Linked DNA regions of Homo sapiens: region 2 is linked to region 1. The links are contacts of gene promoters, found by promoter capture Hi-C in blood cells and fetal thymus (Javierre and others, 2016). All regions are on one chromosome and are shown on one strand. The core of a region is centred on a gene start or on the middle of the fragment in contact, and the rest is flanking DNA. Distances in the headings are between cores, read along the strand shown. Region 1 holds the start of DNAJA2 (DnaJ heat shock protein family (Hsp40) member A2). Region 2 overlaps ABCC11 (ATP binding cassette subfamily C member 11).

Region 1 (4,531 bases), core at 1,465-3,964:
CCCAGGAGGCAGAGGTTGCAGTGAGCTGAGATTGTGCCACTGCACTCCATCCTGGACAAGAGCGAAACTCGGTCTCAAAAAAAAAAAAAGAGAGAGAGAGAAAATGATCTTCACAGTTGAAATTTTAAGTCCTATAATAACAAGCAGCCTCAGAACCATATAAAACCACCTTCCTCTCATTAAAAAATATCGACTGTCCTTTTAAGAGCTACAGCGAAATAGAAACATTCAGATAATCAAATTCAATTTAGTCACCAAAAGAAGACAAGGCAAATGGAAGTTTTTCTAATGAAGGACAGAACACTCTATGAGATTTTTCATCTACTGAGTCATTATCCCACTTGACAAAAAGTACTTAATTTTTTAAAACAACAAAACAAGATATTCACTTGAGTGGATGCATCATGTCCTCTCCTCTTCTTCTGCCATTTCGACTTCTACTCTGATTGCCCATGAAGCCGAACAATCCCCCACCAAAAATGTGAGAGAAAATATCATCCATGCCACCACCTCCGCCGCTGCCTTCCCGAAGACCTTGCTCTCCGTATCTGTCATATAACTCACGCTTCTCAGGATTTGATAGTACTTCATATGCAAAACTTATTTCTTTAAACTATAAAGAAAAGGTAAAAATAAAAATAATTGCATTTTCAAGTAGAAGAGTGGGGAGAAGCTACAGGAATCCAGAATCCATTTAATTCTAAAAAAAAAAAAAAAGGGACAAGTTACCTTTGACTTGATTCTGGTTCTATTTACCACCCACCGCTCCTCAGAATGGTAGTACTCTTATTCTAAAACTAAAATACTCTTGACATTATGAAAATGTGGCTGTGTGGGCATAGTTGGATTTTTTTCCTGCAACATTCCTCTTTTTCAAGGAGGGCAATTTAAGTTAAAGCTAAAACCCCCGGAATAAAAAAGGTGCAAATAACTTACTTTGTCTCCTGCATTTGGATTCTTATCAGGATGATATTCCTTGGCTAACTTTCTGTATGCCTTTGAAAATGGATAAAAACAAAAAAGGTTATAACTAAACACCAGTTAAAAGTTTTGTAATAACTTAATATCCACTTTTCTGAGAAGTAATGTTCTAGAGTTATAACCTTTCAAAAATATTTTCTATTCGTAGGGATTCTTCGGCACTTTCTCGCGATACTGTTTACTAATGTAATATAACCAAGTAGACAGCAGCTATACTTGAAAACAGGTTACAGTGACGTGAAAACCAGATAAAACAATGAAGCAATGCCACAGGGAAAAACAAAACGTTCAAACATTATCCATATTTTCCCTATTGTCAAGTGTCTTTGATGGCCAAGTAACCAGACCAAGACGACCCTAATAAATTCGAGATAAATGACTGTTAAGCTTTGCGGACTGCAAAACATTACTATAAATCAAGCTAAAGTCACAATTCCTGCTCCCGATGGCTCACGCCTTCCTTCTAACTGTAACATCATGAAAAAGTAAAGGTGGTCCTAGTTAGCGTCTTTTGGTGTTTTATTTGCACGTGGTGGTTAACTGGGGTCGTGGTGGCAACTTCGGTGGTAGAGAAGTTGCACACACTCTCAACGAGGTGTTTGGGTCCTAAAGCACTTAAATCTTCATTCACGGAGGCTCGTGAATTATATAATACAGACTAGCATTTCCGGTAAGGTAACAGGAAGTCCACTGTACTCTTCTCACTGCCTAAGGAGCATTCTCATTTTTCTCGGCTTACAAATCTGGATGCTCTTAGCCTGGTGAGGATGCTGTGGGGCTTAAATGCCTCGTGTGCTTTGAAATCCTGAGATGAAAGATATCGCAGCATTGCAAATAGCAATAATAAGGCCTTCTATTTATGTTTACTGTACACTCAGGCGTTTGGCTGGGACCACGGCTTATTCCTAAGCAGGTACAGGACATTAGCATTACCTGCCCAAAGAACAATGCATCCAAACACAGACCCAGCTACCTCCGGGTCAATGGGCGAGGGACGCAGAGAGGGAGGAGCTCCCGCAGCCGGCGGCCGCGGAACCCAGGAAACAACCCCATCCGCCCGAGGCGCTCTGTGGGGGCGGCCTCGACCTCCCCGCCGTTCCTCCCCGCGGAGCACCAGACCCGGGGCCGACGGCCGCGGGGCGGACAGCTTCTCTCTCGGGGCCGGGATGCGCTGAGCACCTCGGTCCAACCTGTTTTTCCGGGGTGGTGACCTCGACGCGAAGGACCGGGCGAGCTGCTGCCTCCCGGGGGATACCAGCCCCCGGCGCTCGTTCAAGGAGGGAGGAAGGAAGGGCTCCCATCGTGTTTGCGCAGGAGTGAGTTTTATTTGCTGCATCTGCGGGCGGGCGGGGCCGGCGGCCCCAAGGTCAGCCGAGGCCGGAGTGCGCGGCTCGCGGCGAGGCCGGTCCCGCCGCCGCCGCCGACTCCCAGCCCGGGCCAGTCACGGCCGGCGCCGGCTCGCGGGCAGCCCAGTAGCGCGGCCTGGCTGAAGAAGACATCCCTGGCCGCGCAGGCCCCGCGCCCCTCACACCCGCCCGGCCCGCTCCCAGATACCTTCTTCAGCTCGTTCTCGCTGGCGCCGGGCGGGACGCCCAGGATGTCGTACAGCTTCGTGTCAGCCACGTTAGCCATGGCGGCCGGCCGGGCAGTGCTCGGGGAGAAGGTGGCGAAGCAGACAGAGCGGAGTCGGGCCCACAAGCGGCGTCGGCGGCGGCACAGGCCGAGGGAGACAGCGAGGGGGAAGCGGGGGCGGGGCTGAACTTTGACCCAGCGCACGGTGCGCCGTGACGTCGCTGTGCAGAGCCCGCCCCCGAGCGCCCGAGGCGCGGCCACTGGGGTCGAAGTATTGAAGAGTGGGCCAGGTTCTCTGTTTTCCTCCAGGTCCAGGCGGCTGGGCAGGGCCAACGTAGGAAATGAAGAACTGTGCACGGCGCACCCCAGGAATTCAGCTTCCTCTCAAAAGCCATGGTTGCGAGGTCGCGTGTTTAACCTCGCACTGGCTGCTGAGGGAATTAACAGGCCTGCGCAGCAGCTTCGTTAGCTTCGAAAGAAAATGGGCCCCGGCTCCCGCAGGAGGCCCGCCTGGCGCGCAGATGTCGTTATTAGAATCCGGGACGTCGGTGGACCCTCTGGGTCTGGCTCCCTCGGGGCTTACGATGAAAAAAACTGGGGGGCGCGTGTGTGTGTATGTTGTGTTTTATATTATGAGAATTCTGAAACATTTAGCAGAAGCAGTATATTACTCCCCATAGTGCAGTTAGCTACCTTTTACCTGTTTCATTGGCTCCACCATACATTTCTAGTGTTTTAAGGGAAACCGTTTCATTCATAAATACCCTAAGTGTATATATTTAATATCTAAGAGACAACTTTTAAAGGCATAACGATGTAATCTCATCTAATGAAATTAACAATTCCTTAATCTAATTCCCAGTCCATATTTAGGTTTTTCAGATGATCTCATGTCCTTTTACAATTGGTTTGTGGCATCCGGGTCCAAACCAAGGTCCACATGTTGCATCTGGACCACGTGTTTAAGCCTCTTACTTGATAGCTTTAAAATTAGCTAACACCAGAGGTTTAGATGGTGTAAGGCAAGTCTGGCCACCAGGTGACTTGATTTACATTCGTTTTAGTTTCGCTCAGAAAGTATGCTGTGCATCTACCAAGTGCTATGATGTACAGAGGCCTGGTCCGGGGAGAGGAGTGTTACAAAAGTGCCTGCCTTCAACCCATTTACGGTTTATGGAGACAGAAAAGTAAGGTTTTCTGATCCCTTGGAACCTGAACTGATAGCAAAGACTTCAGCATAAGCATCTCACTCAGGATAATGTTTCTTCCTTGGCGTTCCCTTTGACCTAGTTGTGGAGGGCCTGAATTCCATGACAAGGACTCTGAAATTTAGCTTGAAAACCCTAAGAGTAATCAGTGATAAGTCATTAATAGTCCTTAAACCCTTTTCCTCAAATCCCATCTGAAATCCTGCTCCCTCTGTGAAGTCTTCCTTTACTGGGCACTGGTGAACACTGCTATCTCATTCGAGTTCCCACCACCCTTCGTTTGTACCTTTTGTGGTAGGATCTCGAACTCTTTTGTTTTTTTTTTTTTTTTTTTTTTTTTACTTGAAACAGCGTCTCGTTATGTCGCTCAGGCTGGAGTGCAGTGGCGCCATCTCAGCTCGCTGCAACCTCCACCTCCCGGCTTCAAGTGATTCTCCCACCTCAGCCTCTCGAGTAGCTGGGATTACAGGCGCCCACCACCATGCCCGGCTAATTTTTGTATTTTTAGTAGAGGTGGAGCTTCACCATGTTGACCAGGCTGGTCTCGAACTCCTGATCTCAAATCATCCACCCACCTTGGCCTCCCAAAGTGCTGGGATTGCAGGCCTGAGCCACTGCCTCTGCCAACCGCCATTGCCGTGTAAATGCTGACGTCATCCTCATGCACGGCTGTAAAATCCAATTCTCTACTTTTCACATTTTGAGATGTTCGTAAGAGACGGTGTAAAGTTATGGCGAGGTTAGACTGTGTAGGTTGGTAGTCTGACTCT
Region 2 (4,531 bases), core at 838-3,337, 1.3 Mb after region 1:
AGGGATGGTGTTCTCATCTAAGCGACTCCGTAAGCTTTGGATCATGAGCGGGGTGAGCCATGACACGGTGAGGTAGGAGAACAGGCCAGCATTGTCCAGGGGCTGGGGGGCAGGAAACCTAGTAGAGGGGCCACAAGGATAAGAATGAATTCAGGATCAAGATTTTGCAAGGATGAATGACAACCATATTAAAACACAACGAGGTTACCCAGATCTACACACAAACATGTTTTCATGACTCTTATTTGTAAGTTGAAAATCATAAACAACAAAAGTGCCCATTAATTGAGGAATTATTTAAACAAAAAGAGAGAAATTATGATCTACCCATACTATAAAATGCAAATGCAATGTAGATGTTTGGGGTTTTTTTTTTTTCAATAAGGTTTGTTTATATGTAAAACACAGGAAGAGTTCCAAGCAAAAGCCAAAAAAAAGCCACTTGCAGATTAAAAACTCAGTATTGGCTGGGCCCAGTGGCTCATGCCTATAATCCCAGCACTTTGGGAGGCCGAGGAGGGTGGATCACCTGAGGTCAGGAGTTCGAGACCAGCCGGGCCAACATTGTGAAACCCTGTATCTACTAAAAATACAAAAATTAGCTTGGTGTGGTGGTGTGCACGCCTGTAATCCCAGCTACTCGGGAGGCTGAGGCGTGAGAATCGCTTGAACCCGGGAGGCACAGGTTGCAGTGAGCCGAGATCACGCCACTACCACTCCAGCCTGGGAGACAGCGCACGACTCCGTCTCAAAAGAAAAAAAAAACTCAGTATTTTTTTCACTTATATAAAAAAGGAAGAAAGGAGAGAAAGCAGACAAAACAGTATGTACATTTATATCACATTGCTGATAGTGGTTGACATTGAAAAAGGAGTTGGAGTTGACAAAGAAATAGGAAGAGAGGTCCTCAAGGCTTTAATTCTTCTGTGAAACTTTTACAAACAATAAAATTGAATACATAAATAATTAAAGATGATAAGGTATTACCTTTAAGAATGATTTACAAATACCAAAAATGACTAAATTAGGGTATTGGGATTATGTGTCATTTTTCCACTTTTTTTTTTTTCAAAATTGCCTTTAAGTTTATGTGTTTCAATGGGAAGAAAATGCAATTCGAAAAGAGACTTGAGGAGAAAGATGGGAAGATGAAAATGCCGAACTTATAAGATTTCTTTTGGGGGGTAGGGGAGAGGGACTATGACGTCTTTTCTCTACCCTTTCATATCCTCACAGCATTCTCAACAAGGCTGGCCACATGCCATTGCCAGGGATATTGGAGCAAGGAGCGGGTGAGGGGAGGGCAAGAGATTGTACCATTTGTGATCACAAAAGACAGGGCAAGACCTATGAGCCAGTGCTAATATCTTAAAGCCCCAACAGAAACAATATATTTATCTAAGATGAGGTTACCCAGGTGAATGAAAGTACCAAGGTTCTTTGTTCTTGGTGGAGATAACATAATTCAATATGGTAACAATGTAACTAGTATTGACAGAAGCTCAGATTTTAAAAATGGGCAAACAAATGCAGTTTGTTGATAGATAAAAATCTTAGAAAACATGTTGGAAATCAACTTGGTTACTCCCATAACCAAGGCTGGTAACTTTTTTTTTTTTTTTTTTTTTTGAGACGGAGGCTCGCTCTGTCACCCAGCCCGGACTGCGGACTGCAGTGGCGCAATCTCGGCTCACTGCAAGCTCCGCTTCCCGGGTTCACACCATTCTCCTGCCTCAGCCTCCTGAGTAGCTGGGACTACAGGCGCCTGCCACCGCACCCGGCTAATTTTTTGTATTTTTAGTAGAGACGGGGTTTCACCTTGTTAGCCAGGATGGTCTCGATCTCCTGACCTCATGATCCACCCGCCTCGGCCTCCCAAAGTGCTGGGATTACAGGCGTGAGCCACCGCGCCCGGCCGGCTGGTAACTTTAATGTGGCCTTTGAGAACCTGTCTGATCCGCTTGCCTCTGCAGCCTCACCTCATGCCACACCCACATCACACAAGACTCTCCAGTGACACTGGCCTCCTTCTTTCTCAGTTCCTGGACACATCATGCTGTGTTCCTTGCCCCTCCAGGCAAGGCTGTCCCACAGGCTGTTCCTTGATCATTCTTCTCCTACTCTTGCTTAGGAAATTCTTGTTCTCCCTCTAGGTGTCACTCAGCTTAAGCCACTCAGAACCTACCAAGTTGTCATGGTTCTCCGGTCCCTCAACACTCGCATACTTCTTCACAGCACCTTCCTCAAACAGCTTGTAATCATGTCATGCACAAGTTTATTTGCTTATTGTCTTTCTCTCCCATGTGAGGTCCATGATGGCAAAGATCACGTCTGTTTGCTCACTGTTCTTCCCCTGTGATGTAGCACAGTGCCTGGCACATGTAGGTGCTCAATGATCCTTTCTGTATGAATAAATAATGAATGAATGGCTATGACGATGTGCCTCCCTGGTGTGCCTCAGGCTGCTCTGAAGGGATTTGGCTGTGTAGGGATGTAGTTATGCAACCTTCGTGAGAGGTCTAGTTGGGAGGGTTGGGGATCATTGCCCTGGTGGATACAGCTCTCTCCCACCACCCCCATCAGGACTCACCTCGGCTTGGGACGGAAGGGAATCATGGTTCTCAAGGCAGCATCATACTTCCCCCACGGTGGGACAGCTGCCCTCCCTGGAGCCTCAGGATTTCTCTCTTGCTGACTCCAGGGGCCATCTTGGAGAGTATAGGTTTTCTTGGAAAAGAAAAACAAAAGAGCATCAGTTTCAAATCTCGTAAATTCTGTCCTGAGGGAATGTTGGACCAGCTGCCCATGGAGAAATGGATTTTTCCATATCCTGCTTCCTAAAGAAAGGCTTCCATACCGAGAATAAGCAGGGGACCGAGAGTCAGGGCAACTGGATCCCAGCACTCGCTCTGACCCACATTTGCTGAGTGAGTCTGGCCCAGTCACTCTACCTCTTTGGATTTTTATCTGACAGTAAACAATTTAGACAGGAATAAAGGGTGCCATAGTTAGTTACCTGCAGAATGAGGGACCAAGTCACTCTTTGAGGGTAAATCTACTAAAAAGAAACCAACAAGTAAAAAAGCAAATCCTAAAATATTATATGTTTCCCTTTTGACAACTAAAATAAAAGGACAGGTAATTTTTAGGACTTCATATAGAATAAATAATATATTCTATATAAAATAATACTTTTTAAAAGCACAGCAAGGATTGACAGAAAGAGATTCAGAATAGTGGTTACATCAGGTAGGAAGGGTTGGGGAATGACATGGGGGAAGACCAATTGCTGCGTGTGATTGCCAAGGTCCAAGCTGATGTATTGGTGATGGGTTTGCAGATGCTTATTATTATTATTATTAATATGAGTAAATGCATAGATAAATAGGTAATAGGTGATAGAGAGATAGATACAATCTAATCTCTATATAATATTATGCATAGAGATATGCATAAACCATGAAGGTATGCCATGATGATGGATTATAATTGATCTCATTGTGGAAGCCTGAGGTCTATTTGAAAAAAATCAAGAGTAGCTGGGTGGGGTGGCTCATGCTTGTAATCCCAGTGCTTTGGGAGGCCAAGACAGGAGGATGGAGGCCAGGAGTTCATGACAAGCCTGGGCAACATAGGGAGACCCCCATTTCTGTGAAAAATTTAAAAATTAGCTGGGCGTAGTGGTATGTGCCTATAGTCCCAGCTAGCTACTCAGGAGGCTGAGGTGGGAGGATCATTTGAACCCAGGAGGTGTCAGTGAGCTATGATTGTGCCACTGTACTCTAGCCTGGGTGACAAAGCAAGACCCTGAGTCAAAAAAAAAAAAAAAAGAGAGAGAGAGAGAGCAAAAAGAGAAAAGAAAAAAAATTCAAGGGTAAATAAGTATGGGAAGAAATTGTTTGACGTAATTTATGACCGTGGAGAATATTCTGCCAACTCAGTTTCCTGGTGTGCTGATGCTAAGAGATCTACTTACATAAATAAGTCCTGAAACCATGTCATCGCCTATGTCGATGCCACGATTCACGAGGCCACCAGAAGAGTTGGGCACCCAGTATGTCCTCTTCCTAGTCATTTTCAGTTCCTGCCAATTCTTCGTTTCCCAGAATCAGAGAATATGAAAAGACAGCAGGAGTTAGAAGAAGCTTAGATCTCGCCTTGAGCAGCCAGAAGAGGGGGCACTACCCTGCAGGGAGCATATTGGGGCCATGCAGAGGTTTGGGTGCCTGCTCTTTCCTCTCCTTAGCCTGTGCTTGATCCCTCTTTTTAAACATCTTCTCAGGCCTCAGGCCCAAATCACTTAGTGAAACCTTCTCTAACCACCCTCCCCAACCCACCCCCAACACCGCACCCTTGATCCTGGGCAATCTCCTTTGATGTATCAAACCCCTGCTCATAAAATCAGTCTTCTTGCTTTATCCCAGTCTTTAACTGTGTATTTGTTTGAATCATTATTTGTTCAGACTTCATTTATGCACTACACAGAGAGCCTCATGAGCACAGGGACATGTCTGCTTTCCTCGCTGTTGAA

What was found. Contacts are between HindIII fragments. The CHiCAGO score rates a contact against its expected background, and 5 or more counts as called.
Region 2: a fragment that was not itself captured here is called in contact with the fragment with the promoter of DNAJA2 in region 1 in 1 of 17 cell types (naive CD8 T cells); the score reaches 5.2 in naive CD8 T cells.

The regions. Positions count from the first base shown.
Region 1 is chr16:46,970,960-46,975,490 of GRCh38, forward strand. DNAJA2 (DnaJ heat shock protein family (Hsp40) member A2) reads right to left here and starts at 2,715. Exons shown (of 9, transcript NM_005880.4): 1 at 2,536-2,715; 2 at 937-996; 3 at 390-613. The coding sequence starts at 2,613. It overlaps DNAJA2-DT (DNAJA2 divergent transcript), which reads left to right and starts at 2,813. Exons shown (of 2, transcript NR_186372.1): 1 at 2,813-3,166. RefSeq lists silencers at 1,587-1,666, 2,017-2,086, 2,117-2,166, 2,317-2,396, 2,427-2,476 and enhancers at 2,907-2,976, 3,037-3,126. The HindIII fragment of the contact is 5,496 bases long and covers 1,367-4,531 here.
Region 2 is chr16:48,227,847-48,232,377 of GRCh38, forward strand. ABCC11 (ATP binding cassette subfamily C member 11) reads right to left here. Exons shown (of 30, transcript NM_001370497.1): 2 at 3,977-4,093; 3 at 2,591-2,727; 4 at 1-118. The coding sequence starts at 4,075. Among named protein-coding and RNA genes, the nearest start is that of LONP2, 14 kb to the right of the region's middle. The HindIII fragment of the contact is 4,111 bases long and covers 33-4,143 here.